Linked DNA regions of Homo sapiens: region 2 is linked to region 1. The links are contacts of gene promoters, found by promoter capture Hi-C in blood cells and fetal thymus (Javierre and others, 2016). All regions are on one chromosome and are shown on one strand. The core of a region is centred on a gene start or on the middle of the fragment in contact, and the rest is flanking DNA. Distances in the headings are between cores, read along the strand shown.

What was found. The method cuts DNA at HindIII sites, captures the fragments that hold promoters and counts their contacts. A CHiCAGO score of 5 or more calls a contact.
Region 2: a fragment that was not itself captured here is called in contact with the fragment with the promoter of AJUBA in region 1 in 1 of 17 cell types (naive B cells); the score reaches 5.2 in naive B cells.

What each region holds. Positions count from the first base shown.
Region 1 is chr14:22,977,993-22,985,154 of GRCh38, forward strand. It overlaps AJUBA (ajuba LIM protein), which reads right to left and starts at 4,559. Exons shown (of 8, transcript NM_032876.6): 1 at 3,269-4,559; 2 at 352-453. The coding sequence starts at 4,274. AJUBA-DT (AJUBA divergent transcript) reads left to right here and starts at 6,332. Exons shown (of 3, transcript XR_007064074.1): 1 at 6,332-6,828. It overlaps LOC124903287 (a long non-coding RNA gene), which reads left to right. Exons shown (of 2, transcript XR_007064076.1): 1 at 1-109; 2 at 658-1,229. RefSeq lists enhancers at 1-2, 3,608-4,573, 4,574-5,539. The HindIII fragment of the contact is 4,726 bases long and covers 510-5,235 here.
Region 2 is chr14:22,477,836-22,484,997 of GRCh38, forward strand. It overlaps TRD-AS1 (TRD antisense RNA 1), which reads right to left and starts at 5,124. Exons shown (of 5, transcript NR_148361.1): 1 at 5,018-5,124; 2 at 3,406-3,523. It also overlaps TRA, TRAJ57, TRAJ56, the pseudogene TRAJ55, TRAJ54 and TRAJ53. RefSeq lists a silencer at 6,998-7,047. The HindIII fragment of the contact is 664 bases long and covers 2,525-3,188 here.

The DNA of each region.
Region 1 (7,162 bases), core at 3,309-5,808:
CTGTCGCCCCAGGCAACTTGGCTGCCCAAGACCAAGCCCCACCAAGAAGCTGGAGGGCCAGGCAAGTCCAGGATGGGCAAGCAGGGAAGCACGAGAGGGAGAAACAGAGGTGAGGAAGGAAGGAGGGACTCCAGAAAGGGGACCCACCAGGCGGAGGGAGAGCCAAGTAGAGGACAGACAGGGAAGCAAGAGAGGCAGAGCAGCTGCGGACCTCCAGACACTTGGTGGGGATCCAACAGCTGCTCTGTGAGCAAATGAAGAGGCACAAGCTCTCCTCCTGTTCCCCATAGCACTTGTAAGTGTGTATGTGGGCAGGGGAGGGGAGTGCTTGAGTATTGGGGCTACACTCACCACAAGAGCAGCAAACAAAGCACTGGGTGTGGTAGAGGCTGTCCAGGGCCTGGCAGGCATTGCTCTGCCCATAGATGCCTTTGTTGCACTTGATACAGGTGCCTGAGAAGAGAAAAGTGTCACACTCTACTCCCCCAGGTCAAAACCAGGGATTCCCAAGCTTTCCTGACTGCCCTTTCCTGATGTGCCAGGGGTCACAGTCTCCCTTTGATGGGCTCCCTTCTGAGTAGAGAAGATAACGAGTAATGAGATGCAGCAAGATCTTGGCTGAGCAGATCCATTCTTGTTTATTTAATTACTCAACAGATATTTTCTGAGCATCTGTTTTGTGCTTAACACAGCACCACTACCTAAGGAAACCTGGAGAAAGTCGAAGATATGGTCCCTGGCATTCAGATGCTTAGTTTCTGTTGGGGAGAAAAGACTACACAGGCAAGGTATGATCTCTGTTGCAGTGTGTAGGATGAACGGTCAAAGATGCCAGTCCACAGGTGCTCAGCAGCAGACTTGAAAATACTTTCTAGAGAAAGCAGGCTAGGCCCAGAAATCGTCTCTGGGACTTCAGTTTCCCATCAGTCAAACGAGCTGTTCAGTTATAGAATGATTTCTCTCCACTGCAGACTTCCAAGGATGGAGAAAAGGATCTGGCTTGGCAGAGGGCTCCGTGCAGAGGGGACCATGTGAGCATGATTCCTGTGGGGAGGTGGCTGCTGAGAATGCAGGGTGTGTTCCAGGAACCAGGGTTGAACAGGAAAGCAGGGAGAGTAGCAGAGCCCCTGATGCCTCCTAGTCACCTTCTATCATGGGAAGAATACAGAACTGAACTGCTTGCTATTCCCCAAAATCCCCCACTAAGATATATACACCTGGCTCTGGGACTTGCCTTTCCTGGGTGTGTTCTTCCCTCCCTCCACTCCCCAATTCCAGGCCCATGAGTGAGGGCTAGGGCCTGTCTTTGGGGAGCAGATCCCAACGGGCCTGCCCCACCTCTCCCCCTCGGCACGCTGCCACACTCCCTGCCTGTTGGGGCCCATCCCAGTCTTTGCCCAGGGGCTTGGGAGCCTGTGCAGCAGCTGCAGCAACTGATGGGCCCAGGCCTGTCCTGCTCCCACCCTCTGGCAGCTGGGCAAGGCTGAAGCCAAGGAAGAGGGCCCCTACTAGGGGCAGGAGGAGGGTACAGTCAAGCTGGGGCTAGCGGCACAAGGGGTATGTAGGGGTTCTGTCAAAGGAGGCAACCTGACTCCCAAGGAGAAGGGGCCCCCATCTCTGAATTCAAAATGTGGCTTCCTCATGGAAGTGAAGATCTGCCCCAAGATTGCCATGCCAGGGGGTCCTGTCGGAGCCATTCTTTAGGAAACCTTGGACGTTATGGGAAAAGCAAACGAAACTGCTCAGGCACGTTGGCCTCACCTCCTCTAACCCAGCATATCTATACCTATGTTCTTCCTGCCATTTTATTGCAGTTTCTCTGAGTTCCTTTCTTCCTTTTGGCTCTGATGGTTCAGCCAAAAAGACTTCTTTACTAGCCACCTCTCCTGGGCCTCAAAATGAAACTGCTAAATGGGCCCTGTCATTCAGTCTTCCTTGATCAAAGCGGTTTGGCATCATCTCCTCTGGGCTTTCCTCTCGGTGGATTTGGAGGTGGGGAAAAGAATGGGGGTGGAGGCTGGGGGTTGAGTTATGCCCTTATAGCCTGCCGCCCTGCTACCTCTGAACCTCCTACCCAACCATCCCTCCCTGGCCGCGTTCCTCTTCCTATTCACTTTTCTAGCCATAGAGTTCTACAGCATGGGGTCCAGGAGTGGGGCATGAGTGGTAAGAAGAGATGCTTAGAAAAGTGAAAGAGGCCCACAGCCCTTAGGCGGTAAGCCTGCCACTTCTTTCCAATCACAATCAGATTCGAAGTTTTTTATGTGTGTAGCAGTGCCTGTGAATTTTGACTAAAAGATCTTTCAAGACCCTAATGTTCCTCATAGCTGAGACATATAATCAATCAATACTTCCTGAACAGAGTAGGGGAGGGAGACAGCGACCAGGTTTCCTTAACAGTGTCAGGAAGTAAGGCGCTACTTCTGGCCTGAATTCTGAGAGGTTATAAGCAGAATTCAAGGCCAAGTTATTTCTGGCAATAACACAGGGTCGTTATCCATCCAGAGGTAATGGTGTCCCAGTAGTCATGACTTTTACCCTGACTTCCGGAGGATGGGGAAAATAGAAGCTGGTACTACTGGGTCTCTGATTAAATGCCCACGCACGCACCTAGCCAACAGGACTGGGGAGGGACAGCAGTTGGGTCCCAGGGCGCTCCATCCTGTCTCCCAGGCTCCATTTCCCCGACAGCCGCCACTACTCCGCGTATGCTAGGGAGCGTCCCCCGATCCCCGAACCCCACCCCTCCGCCGCGCGGCGGCAGCCGCCCCGCCCGCGGGCACCTGGAGCGCCCGGGCAGGAGTCGGCACGCACGCGGCCAGCCTGCCCCGCCCCCCCACCCGCGCATTCTCCGAATTCCTGCGGGCGGAGCCTGGGCCCGGGTGGGGGCGCGGCGCGCACAAACCTCCAGGGGCACCGCCGTGAAAGGGGGGAGCAAGTTGGGGGGGATGCGCCTTCACTGCCCCACTTGGTCCCTTCCCTACGAGGCCTCCTGCCGCAAAAAACCGAGGTTCAAATGCTTGAGAAACGGACTCACGAGATACCAGGGGGGTTGAATTTAGCAGAAATAAGGAGCCCTGGTTCATCTGAAAACTAGCAGGAAGGGGACAGTGCTCTGGGGCCGCCCCCATCCATCCCTCTTGCTTCTTTCCTAGTCCCGCGTCTTCACCTCGGACCCCGGGGCACCGGCACTTTGGGCCGTCGGGGCAGTGGAGAACCGAATACCGTGACGGGTCCCTTCCCGTCCCTAACCACTTCTCTCACTCACCGAAGTAGTCCTCCCTGGCCTCTGGCTCCCGCATCCGGGCCCGGGCGGCCTCCGGAACGAAAGGACCTGGTGGCTCCTCCAGACCCGACGGCTCAATCCCCGAGGGTTCTCCGCGGGCTCCGGCTTCTCGCCCACCGGTGCCCACCGTCAGGCGAAGCAAAGCTGTTAGCTCGTCCTGGTACCGGGCGCCCACGGCGCAGTCCCCGTAGCCGGTCACAGAGTGTCGTCCGGGTTGCGCCCCCCGTCTCTCCAAGGGCCCCGCCGCTCCCACTCCGGCCCCGGCTAGAGCTCCAGGGCTGCCCAGGGCCGGGGGATACGAGTGGCGGCTTTCCTGGCAGCCGAACCCCGCGGGCCGCTGAGCGTACAATCGGTCCAGGGCGGCGTGGAGCTCCGGGTAGGCGGACGGGACCCCTCCGGGAGAATAGCCTGCCGGTGCTCCGGCCAGGGGTGGGCCAAACAGGCACGGCCCCGCTGGCAAGGGGCTCCCGTGGCGCTGGTCGTAGCCCATGCTGATGCCGCTGGTGCGATTGCTGCAGGGCCGGCTACCTCCAGCTCCGCCAGCCCCCGCCCCGTCCAGCAGCAGGCTGCCCCGGGGGCTGGACGGCTTGCTCGCGTCGCTGGCCGAGCTACTGGCGAAGCTAGAGCGGGGGCTGAGGGCCGGGGCCGTGGGCTCCAGCCGAAAATCGGGGGGCAACGACTGAGGTAGAGGCAAGGCCCGGGTGGGCGGCGGCCCCGCGGGAAAAGAGCCTTCGTAGCGCGGCGCCTCAAAGGAGCCGCGCTGATTTCGCTCAGCGTCCAGGGAACCTTGCTCCCGGGCCGGCTCCAACGGCTCATCCCCAGGTCCCCCAGTAGCTCCTCGGGGCCCTGACTTCCTAGGTCCCCCCAACCCACTTAGGCGCCCCTTGCCCGGCCCGGGGGTCCCGTCAGACCCAGACCGGCTAGATTCACCCTTTCTGCGGCCGAACTTCTCCAGCAGGCGACTGGCTTTCTCTCCTAACCGCTCCATGCCCTCGGGCCTGGGGCCTCTCGCCCCCTCCCCGCCTGGCACCCTGCGGCGTCTCGGCGGCCGGTTCTCTTTCCCTGCAGCCGGACTCTGGTTCCCCAGGGGCACAGGGGAGGCACAGGGGCTTAGCGGGCGGCCTGGATGCCCTGCGCCAGGAATCCCACAGCATCCCCCAGCGGGAGGGGCTGCGTCCCCCCGCGCATCTGGGGCTGAGCGGGGCTAGCAGGGTCTCTGGCCGCGGCTGTCCAGTCCGCAGGTCTATCTGTTCACGCGTCGACTCGCCCGACTGCCCCACTCTCCCCGGCCCCCGCCCCCCTAGCTCTCACGCTAGCCACAGACCGAACTTCTCTCCCAAACTTTTGTCTGCCTGGCCGGATCTACTTTCCTAGGGGGGCGGAGCGCGGTGTGTGCGAGAGCGCCGGGGGTGTCCGCGCAGGGATAGCTGGTGTGCGTGCAGCGGAAGGCGCTAACTGCCCTGGATGTGGAGACCCGCGGACTGGACGTGAGAGGCGGGCAGGGGCAGTTGGGGCAGCTGCCCCTACAACACTGAAGAATTGGAATAGGAAAGAGTGTGGGGGTAGGGGACGGGGACTCTTTGTCTGCAGTTGGAATGCGCGGAGGGGCATGGTGGAATGTGTCGCGTCCCGGGACCGGACGACAGGAGGCATGTTCTGCGCTAGCACCGTGACTTTGTTCCCAGCGTGGGGACTGTGGGAGAGATGGAGAGAGACTGGTACAGAAATGGTGAGACAAGGAGAGAGCCATAAAGAGGAAGACAGAGAGAAAGAAGACAAATGCATAAAGAGGTTCAGAGACGTGTACGTAAAGATAGCCCTGAAAGGCGACGAAGCCCACAGAGAGAGGTGGAAGAGGGAAGAGGTAGCGAAAGAAAGGGAGAGCTGAGGAGCAAAGAGGAGTGTGGACGATGCAGAGACCGAAGGGTGCGCAGACAAAGGAAAGGACAAGCTTGTCCAGAGAGAATGAGAGACAAACAGATAAACTGCAATAAAAAGGCACCACCTTCTGGACCCAAAAGTTTTGTGATTTGTAAAAGCAGTGAAAAGGAGTCAGGAAAATGGGACTAATCTCTACTTTGAGAGGGAGGGAAAGAGATATAGTGTGTATGTAGAAGCAGTGAAAAGGAGTGAGGAAAAGGTTTGGGACTAATCTCTACCTTAAGGGTAGGACAGTTAGAGGGATAGACACCCCCTGGTGTTGGGAAATGAGATTTTTCTCATTTCAGGTGACTGTGGAGATCGAAGGCCTGGTTTTAGGGCTAGCGAACACCTTCTCCCTTTGGTTTTGGTCCACAGAAGACTGGTGATACAGAGTAAGTATTAAGAGGAAGAAAAGAAATGCCGTGTAGAGGAAATTGCAAATGAAAATGATCAGGATGGAAAAGAGGCTGATATTGACTATTTTAAAAGGATCAAGAATAAGGAAAAGAAACCCTGGCTGAAGCAGCCGGGCGCGGTGGCTCACGCCTGTAATCCCACCACTTTGGGAGGCTGAGGCGGGCGGATCACTTGAAGTCAAGAGTTCAGACCAGCCTGGCCAACATGGTGAAGCCCTATCTCTACTAAAAATACAAAAATTAGCCAGGCGTGGTGGCGCACGCCTATAGTCCCAGCCACTCGAGAGGCTGAGGCGGGAGAATCGCTTGAACCCGGGAGACAGAGGTTGCAGTGAGCCAATATCACGGCCACTGCACTCCAGCCTGGGCGACAGAGCAAGACTCCGTCTCAAAAAAATTCTCAAAAATAAATAATAATTTTTTTTAAAGAAACCCTAGATGAAGCTAAACATACCTAATTAAATACCAGCCAACGGCCGGGAGCGGTGGCTCACGCCTGTAATCCCAGCACTTTGGAAGGCAGAGGCGGCGGGATCACGAGGTCAGGAGTTTGCAACCAGCCTGGCCAGTATGGTGAAACCCCGTCTCTACTAAGAATACAAAAATTAGCCGGTGTGGTGGCGTGCACCTGTAGTCCCAGCTACTTGGGAGGCTGAGGCAGAAGAATCGCGTGAACCCAGGAGGCGGAGGTTGCAGAGAGCCGAGATTGTGCCATTGCACTCAGGCCTGGGCGATAGAGGGAGATTCCGTCTCAAAAAAATTTTTTAAAAACCAGCCAACTACTTTTGCCCAGACTAAAACATCAGGGGCAAGGGGTGGAGGAAGTAGAATGGAGAAGGAAAATGACTCCTTTGTATTTAGATAGTAAATGAGTATGAAAATTATATGCAAACAAGTCATGCATATTATTTTCATCTCAACATTTTGAACACCTTTTATAATCTTAGTGTAGCCTTAGGGAATGTGGAAAGAAACGAGGTTAATATCTTTTGGGAAATTAATTTGTGCCAAACTATTTGGCTTCTTCGTCCTAGTTGCATTGTCTCCCTGACCTCATCTCCCCTGAGAATCAGCCTCTGTTTCCCTGGTCAAGGCCACGGCTTTTCTCTGATCCTGAGGAGAGTTTCCTACCAGAGTGGAAGCAGGGAGGACTGAAAGCACTAGGAACAGAGGGGAGCTATCGGATTGCATCTAGAACCTGCTGTGAGCAACATCTTCAGAATTAACCATAATGTGTTCCCTCCTTTCCTGTGTCCAGATGAGGAAGGAGAACTTTGATTCTTCCTTCCAATTACATCCAAAATATCCACACAACTACTAATATTTGGAAGCTTTGATCCTTTGGGGTGAGGATGCGAGAGGAAATCTTATGAAATGTTGGGAGGCCATTAAAGGAGGCCCATGCAAGAGTTGGTGGTAGCAATGGGCACAACTGGGATGAACAGCCTGTGTTTTCAAGGGATAACTGGAAGCAGAGATGAGTGAAGGGGAAGAAGTAGAAGACGCATATGCTAATAGGGCATGCTCCAATAGTGCT
Region 2 (7,162 bases), core at 1,607-4,106, 500 kb before region 1:
TGGCTTCTTGCCCCATCTCTGCCACATTCAAGTCCTGCTTGGCTAAACAATGCTCACGGATGTGCACGTGTGCAGTGGGATGCAGCTTTTTCTAACCTCTCACAAAATCACGCAACCCCTTCACCAAACTGCTTGGTGGCTCTTCTGTGCCCTCACAGCCCTTCTAGTTTAGCAGTTAGAGGAAGACAAGTGCCCAAGGGCTTTCTCATTTTTAGGTCATTGTGGAAAGAGGAACGTTGGTGATATGTTTGCCTGCTTGGGAGGAAAATAATAATGATGATTTACTCATTGGTTTCTATATGCTAGTTGATGTGCTGCATTCTTTCTCTTATCACATTTAATCCTTATACCAGGTCTGTGAGTTAGGTGCTATTATTATCCTCATTTTATAGAAGAGATATATTTATATTTTATATTTCTATAGAAGCACAGAGATGTTGAATAACTTGTTCAAGCCGATGAAGTAAGAAAGAGAACCTGGAGTTTAATTCTTGGCACTCAGATTCCAGAGCTAAAAGCTTTTCAGTGAGGGGATTATGTCTAGAGGGAATGTCCCTGATGCTCTAGTCTCTAAGGTTGCTAAGATAATCGCTAAAGAACTGCGCTCTCAGCAAGTAAAGCCAGGGGTTGGTCAACAGGACCACGGTGACCCAGTTACATATTCTTAATCCTTACAACATCATCAAGCAGTTGCTGTTTTCCCCACTTTACAAGTGAGGAAACTGAGGTGTAGCAAGTTAGGAAACTTGTCCTGAGTTTTAAACTCAAGCCTACCTGCCCCAAAGCCTGAGCTCTTTTAAATTAACTGCAACTGCTGACCAGTTAGATTAACTAATTACTTAATTAATAAGATAACAACCTAACAGGCTGTAAGGTAAAAAAGTAATCAGATTTGTTCTATAGGTCCCCTCCCTTTTCGGGAATAGCTATACAATTGTATAATTTTATGCTTCCCCTGGGAGAGTGGGTGGAGCCCTGGCTCCCAGCCCATGATGGAAGGGTCTTGGCAGTATTTGTAAAGCAGTCTGTGGGGGTGTAACTCAGGGCGGATCTGAAAAGCTGGTCTTTGGAAAGGGAACGAAACTGACAGTAAACCCATGTAAGTCTGAATAATGCTTCCAAATTTCTCCCTGGAACCCTGATTTCCAAATTTTCCATTCTGTTTTATAACCCAGGTCCAAACCACAGCAGTCCCATTAATGGATTCCAGTGCAAAACAACTGCTGGTGTATTCCTACTACACGCAGGTCTCTGTTGTTTGCCCTCATGTGCTATTTTATCTAATAGCTGAGAATGACAGTACCAATGGAGCACTGAGTTAAGGAGTCAGACTGTTCGAAGGCTTCATTCTTCGTTATAATTGGTGAGATTTTCCATGGGACTAAGAGAAAATTGATTAACTCTCTGAGCCTCTATTTTCCTCCTCTGTAGAATGGGGGAGGCAGTTCCTGTTCCCATTTTACCACAGCCGGCGTGCTGTGAGGGGATGTTGGTACATTTCCAATAAGGGGACAATGAGTGTGAAGAGAAAGGAAGGCCCCAGGTGGTCCGTAAACTCTTCCACCAGTCCCACACTATAAACAGCTGGTTTTATCAGGGGGATTCTTGGATGACAAGTAAGCACTTAAGTAAATATCAAGGGGAGTCTGGGCAACTGAGTTTTTGTAGATCCTCGTGTCATTGTGTTATACTGGAGCCAATAGTAAGCTGACATTTGGAAAAGGAATAACTCTGAGTGTTAGACCAGGTATGTTTTAATGAATGTTATTTGTTTCCAAACATAAGCCACCATCCTTAGAAATTCAGTGAAAGATAACCGAATCTCCTGCCCAGTTATTAGCATCTTTCACCATGGGTCTTTCTGGAGAAAATGACAATGTGGGCAGCCCCTGACTGCAGCCCCTTTGGGACTGTTTCTTTAACACCTTTAAGTACTTGGGAATGTTCAGTGTGTTTTTGTTAATGTTGGAGATATGTGTCTGACAAATGGAATCTGAATTGAAGTTTTAGTGTGTAGGGGCAGAAAGCATTTAGAAAGGACAAAAGAAGGACAGATTAGACTAAAATACATACCAATGGCTGGGAGTATGCAATGCAACCCAATCCAAAAGGAAACAGTGAGATGTAGCCTGCTGATTAAACAACTGAGCCAGCACTCCGTGTCAGCTGACTTGTCTTCCCAAAGCTTCCATGTTGGTGCAATTAGGAAAAGAATTGTCTAATCCCCATAACTCAAAATCTTGGAGCCAAGCTAAATTGGGTAAAGCCGTGTAAGATTTTCTGGTACTGACACTGACTACAAGCTGATATTTAGGGAAAAGTTAAGATTGAAAGCAAATATTCAAATTAGTCAGAAAGACCACGAACTTCTGAAAACAAGCCCCAGGGTGCTGTTAACTGCTGCATTTCTAATTGGGTCCTCATGGAACATTTTCATCTCTGCCTTGTCTGAGCTTTCTGCACCAGAGAAGCCCCTTTTGATACCCACTCACTTCTGAGTCCCTCATTGAAAAGGTGGCAACTAAGCTTAGAGAAGGATTCCCTAATCCAAATGCAATACTTGGGGGAATATTTTGAGTATTGCTCCACCATTCTCAAAACAAACCTAATTTCAGTTAACTTGAATGTAGCTGAAATTTTGTTCCATGAGGGAATCTCTGCTTTCTATGATAATGCAAGCTCATTTCAAACAATTGTTTGGGATTTAACTTTTGCTCATAATTCCCAAAAGATACCAACTATTCAATGAGTATCTTAAAATAAAACTACTTTTATGACCAAATTATTATCCCCATTAGAATGGCTAGAATCAGAATGTCCTAGTATGTATTATGTGAACCCCATGCGACCTTCCTAAAGTTTCTTATGCCTAAAACAGCATAAGAGAGAAAAGCATTTCCACGCTAACCTGTGTGTTCACTGGTTAACAAAGGTCTAAAGAGCAGGTGAGTCAGCTGCTCCATTTCCAAACTGGACTGGACATTTACAGTCCTGCAGATACTAAAAATGATAATCAGGAAAAGCACACACAATTCTACTTTTTCTTATAATTCCCATCTTTCCCAAAGAACTGTTATAAATTCTCTCCCAAAGGTGTTATATTCATCCTTCTTTTGTTGCCTCTATTTGTGATGTGTACTGAGGTGAAATATTTGTTGAGATTCAAAAACCCCATGAGATTTAACTTAAGCTTTCCCTGTCAGAGAGATTCTAAGAGCTAAAAGATGGGAAGCTGGTATTTGGGAACTAGATTAAAAAGAAAATCCAAATTAATCCCAAGGAGCAAGGCTCAATAGATAGTTATTTAGACATAACATGTCCACCCTGCAAGCCTAGTTGCTCAGTTGACTGGGCTGCCCCTATCTTAGTCTTGCCTGGAAGAGAAATAAGTTGTTTGCCCCATACCTGTCTTGAGAAATGTCAGCCTCCAGACCTGAAAGCTTCTTGTGATTTGGTTTATTTCTGTAGAGTTTATTATTATACACAGTGTTCTTGAAGTAATAGAGAAGTGCATTAGAAGCTCCTGCAAATGGAAATGAAATGTAAATTTAGATTGTAAATACATGACTGCGGTAAATAGATAGCAAGAAAAAGGATGAAGAGATTAGAAATTTGCCACATTTCTCTAACCCTAAAGGGATGTTTCTATAAATAGTTTAAAACTGTTGAAGACGAAGGGGGAGGAGGAAGGAGAACAGAGGCAAACAGATTTTCTCCTAATCCTTTCCATTTGGCAAAATTAGAAATGGTTTTTCAATTAAATTTCCCTGAGCAGAGGAAGAAACCATGTCTGTTTCCACACTAAAATTCCTGTGGGTGGGAGTCTCTAGAGTTGATTTGGAGGATGGATCCCTGTTAGTGACAAGTGCTGGTAATGCTCCTGTTGGGGAAAGGGGATGAGTACAAAAATAAATCCAAGTAAGTGTGGAGGGACAAGAAGATCTCACAGTGCAGGATTTCCCCTGGATTTTCTGCATTGCCTTTTCACCTTTCCTGTCTTAGCACGACAAATTAGGTCCCAGATGAGCAGGCCCTCGCATTCAAACCGGAAATTTTAAGGAGGAAGCCAGATTAACTTTACTCGGGAGACCTAGTAGACTCTGACTTTAAAGATTCTTTTAATCCAGCTGTTTTTAGGGAGAGCTCTGTAAAAGATGAAAGAAATGTTTTAAAAAAAAATTAAAATTCTGTGGGGTGAAAACAAAGATGTTAAATATTTGATTGGCAAGGCAACTGGAAAATCTGGACCATGTCTACAACTGCTAAAGGAGGCTTTGTGAAAGAGAAAATGAGCAGCCCAAGGAGATCCTGTCCTAAACTTCTCTGGCCAGTGAAATTCGGGCCATTCTCTGCCACAGCCCTGGACTGCTAGGAGGGCAGATCATATGTCTTCCTCAGTGGGGAGAGGTGGGCCCTCGCTGGCAGTTTCTGTAAAGCCTCGTGCTGTGGTGTAATTCAGGGAGCCCAGAAGCTGGTATTTGGCCAAGGAACCAGGCTGACTATCAACCCAAGTAAGTATGACAGGGTGAAGCTACATGCAGCTGAGTACAGTCTTTTCCTTTCTAGACCGTGTCCTGCAAGCTCTCCTTGAGGGACGTATACTCATTTTGCATTGTCCTTTGTAGAGAAGCAGACCAGGAAAGACAGGAAAGCCCTCAAATTTCCACTTTTAAACACCTCCCTGTAAAAACTGTCTCGCTTCCCTCCCCTTCTACAATCAGTTTCTAGTAAATCAGAATCCGGTGAATTGATATGCAATTTCAACGAAAAAAAAAGCAGAGAAATAGTTACCCCAACAAGTGCAAAAAGTAGAAACTATCTGAGTACCAGCCAAGGGAAGATAATTAGGAAAGAAAAAAAAAGAAAGAAATGGATTACTGGAACCATGATGGCAGCTTAGTCACAAAGAAAATGATAAAAAAAAATTAAAATTAAATTTCAAAAACTTTAAAGATATATACATATATATATATCTATATATATATGATATATTGTCCTCTGGAACTCCAGCACTCACCTACAGCAGCTGCATTCTGGACTTATTATCAAATAACCTATAAACCTGTAGCTTAATGAAGAGTTGAGCAATCGTGACTATATTGACCCCCAGGACCCTTCTGCAAAGAGCAGCTTCTGTTCCTGTTTCTGTAAAGCCTTCTGTGGCTGTGAGAATAGTGGAGGTAGCAACTATAAACTGACATTTGGAAAAGGAACTCTCTTAACCGTGAATCCAAGTAAGTTTGAAGGGAGTGGGGGAAGGGGGAATTCAAACACTTCTGATTTAATTACTTGCCCCTCCAAAACATTCCAGCTTAGGTTCCAAATCTAATGTTTGTGCTGGGGGGATATGGTGCCCATCAGAGGGATTAGAACTCCACTGTACAAAGACTAAATTACTTTCAGCCCAAAACATTCCTATCATTCATCTTAAACAAGATTATTGGTGCAAGGAGAAAAACTGAATACAGAATCCTGAGGGATCCAGCTAAGGGTCAGGAAATGTTTGCCGAAAAGATAAAGAGGAAATTGGCATATCGTGACTACGCAAATGCAGTAGACCAAATATAAATTGTCCTGACTTAGATACTAACACTCCTCTTAAATTTATCGCCTGAAATAATGGAACCCTGCAACTTCATTAACTAATGCTGAAAATTCTATAAGCAGGCTCCTTTTCTTCTTTTACCTTCACTTTACCTCTCTGAAAAGAACTGTTCTCAATCCCCAGTCTGGTAACTGAGGTCCAGTCAGTTAACTGTCTGGTTAACTCAGGCAGAGCATTTAACCCCACTTTTTCTTTGGTTACCAAAATAGTGGATTCAGCCTCCACTTTACTTAGTTCACCTGAGAAGGGGAAAATTCATCTGTCCTCTGAGTCGTGAGAATAGAGCAGTACATTCTCTCCTTCAAATATACACCCACCCTTCCCTAATGGTAATGTGTGAGTACTTAGAAAAGTTTTTAAATGTTAGATATAAAAGTAAGGCACAGTGGTTGCTAATGGCACTTCTTGAAAATCTGCGCTGCTGGTGGACTTCTGAAAGTGGTGCTTATAAACTAAGGCTGGAGAAGACTGACTTGTAAAATTCAGATAAAATGAAAATGGGAAAAACTTATCAAAGGGCCCCGGTCTCCTAAGTGCCCTGATGTTGAGTAAAGGCCAAATGCCCCAGTTTTACTTACTCAGATCTGCTTTCTGTGATTAAGAAGAGATGCACACTAGAGAGAGGCACTTTGAAAAACACAGCCCAGGCAAAATTCTTAAAAAGACTGGCTCTGGTGGCGGGGCGGGTGGTGAAGGACTCAGGGACACCGTGCATGCAGCATTGAGGGAGTTAATGCAGACTTGCTAGCAGACAGCTTGGAACGTTCTGGGATAGGCCCTGCCTGAAGAACATGCAGTGTGGTTAGCCATCAAGTTCCCATGTGCAGAAGTGCCTTGCTCAGCAGGGGCAAAATCAGCACGTCTGTGGCAACAGCAACAATGAATAATATATGATGTTAAATCCCAGGGGTTCAGCAGTCTCCACTGAGGTCTTATCAAATTAAAGCTTCAAGGGGATTCATATGAACATCCCAGGAGACTCAAGGACTCAGTCGCTTTTCAGAGGGTGGGCAGCCAATGCTAGGGACCAGACAGTAGGCTTTTTTCTTTGGTTTCTTACCGGAAGCACACTAGGGCGGGGCTCTGCGGTGGGTTTTCCAGAATGCAGAGAAGCTGGGAGCCCCTCTCAGCACTTGGTCAGCCTCTTAGGGGACTGAGAACTGTAACAACTCCTACCTTTTAAAACATTGACGAGGTCAGGGTGTTTGACAGCCTAACCAGGCAAAGAAAATATCTGTGCAAGGCTAGCATTCTTCCAGAGCTCTGGACAGTAATCGTATGCCAGATTTTCCATGCAGTGGATTCTAGCTGCAGGAACTATATGGCAAGGCTGGAGTCCAAGGAACCCATGATTAAATTCTGTTTTCCTGCAGTAAGTGGAACACAGAGATTATTGCCACAGCAACACTTTGGGTGCCTGTCTGTTTGAGGACCTCAGCTGAGGGCAGGCATCTGGTTTTGCTTATGTCCTGCGGAGGCTGAAGAGAGGGTGGGAAGCCCTTTAGACAGTGAATACTGTGAAATAGTGAAGAGATGGGAAGGGTCGTTTGAATCCCT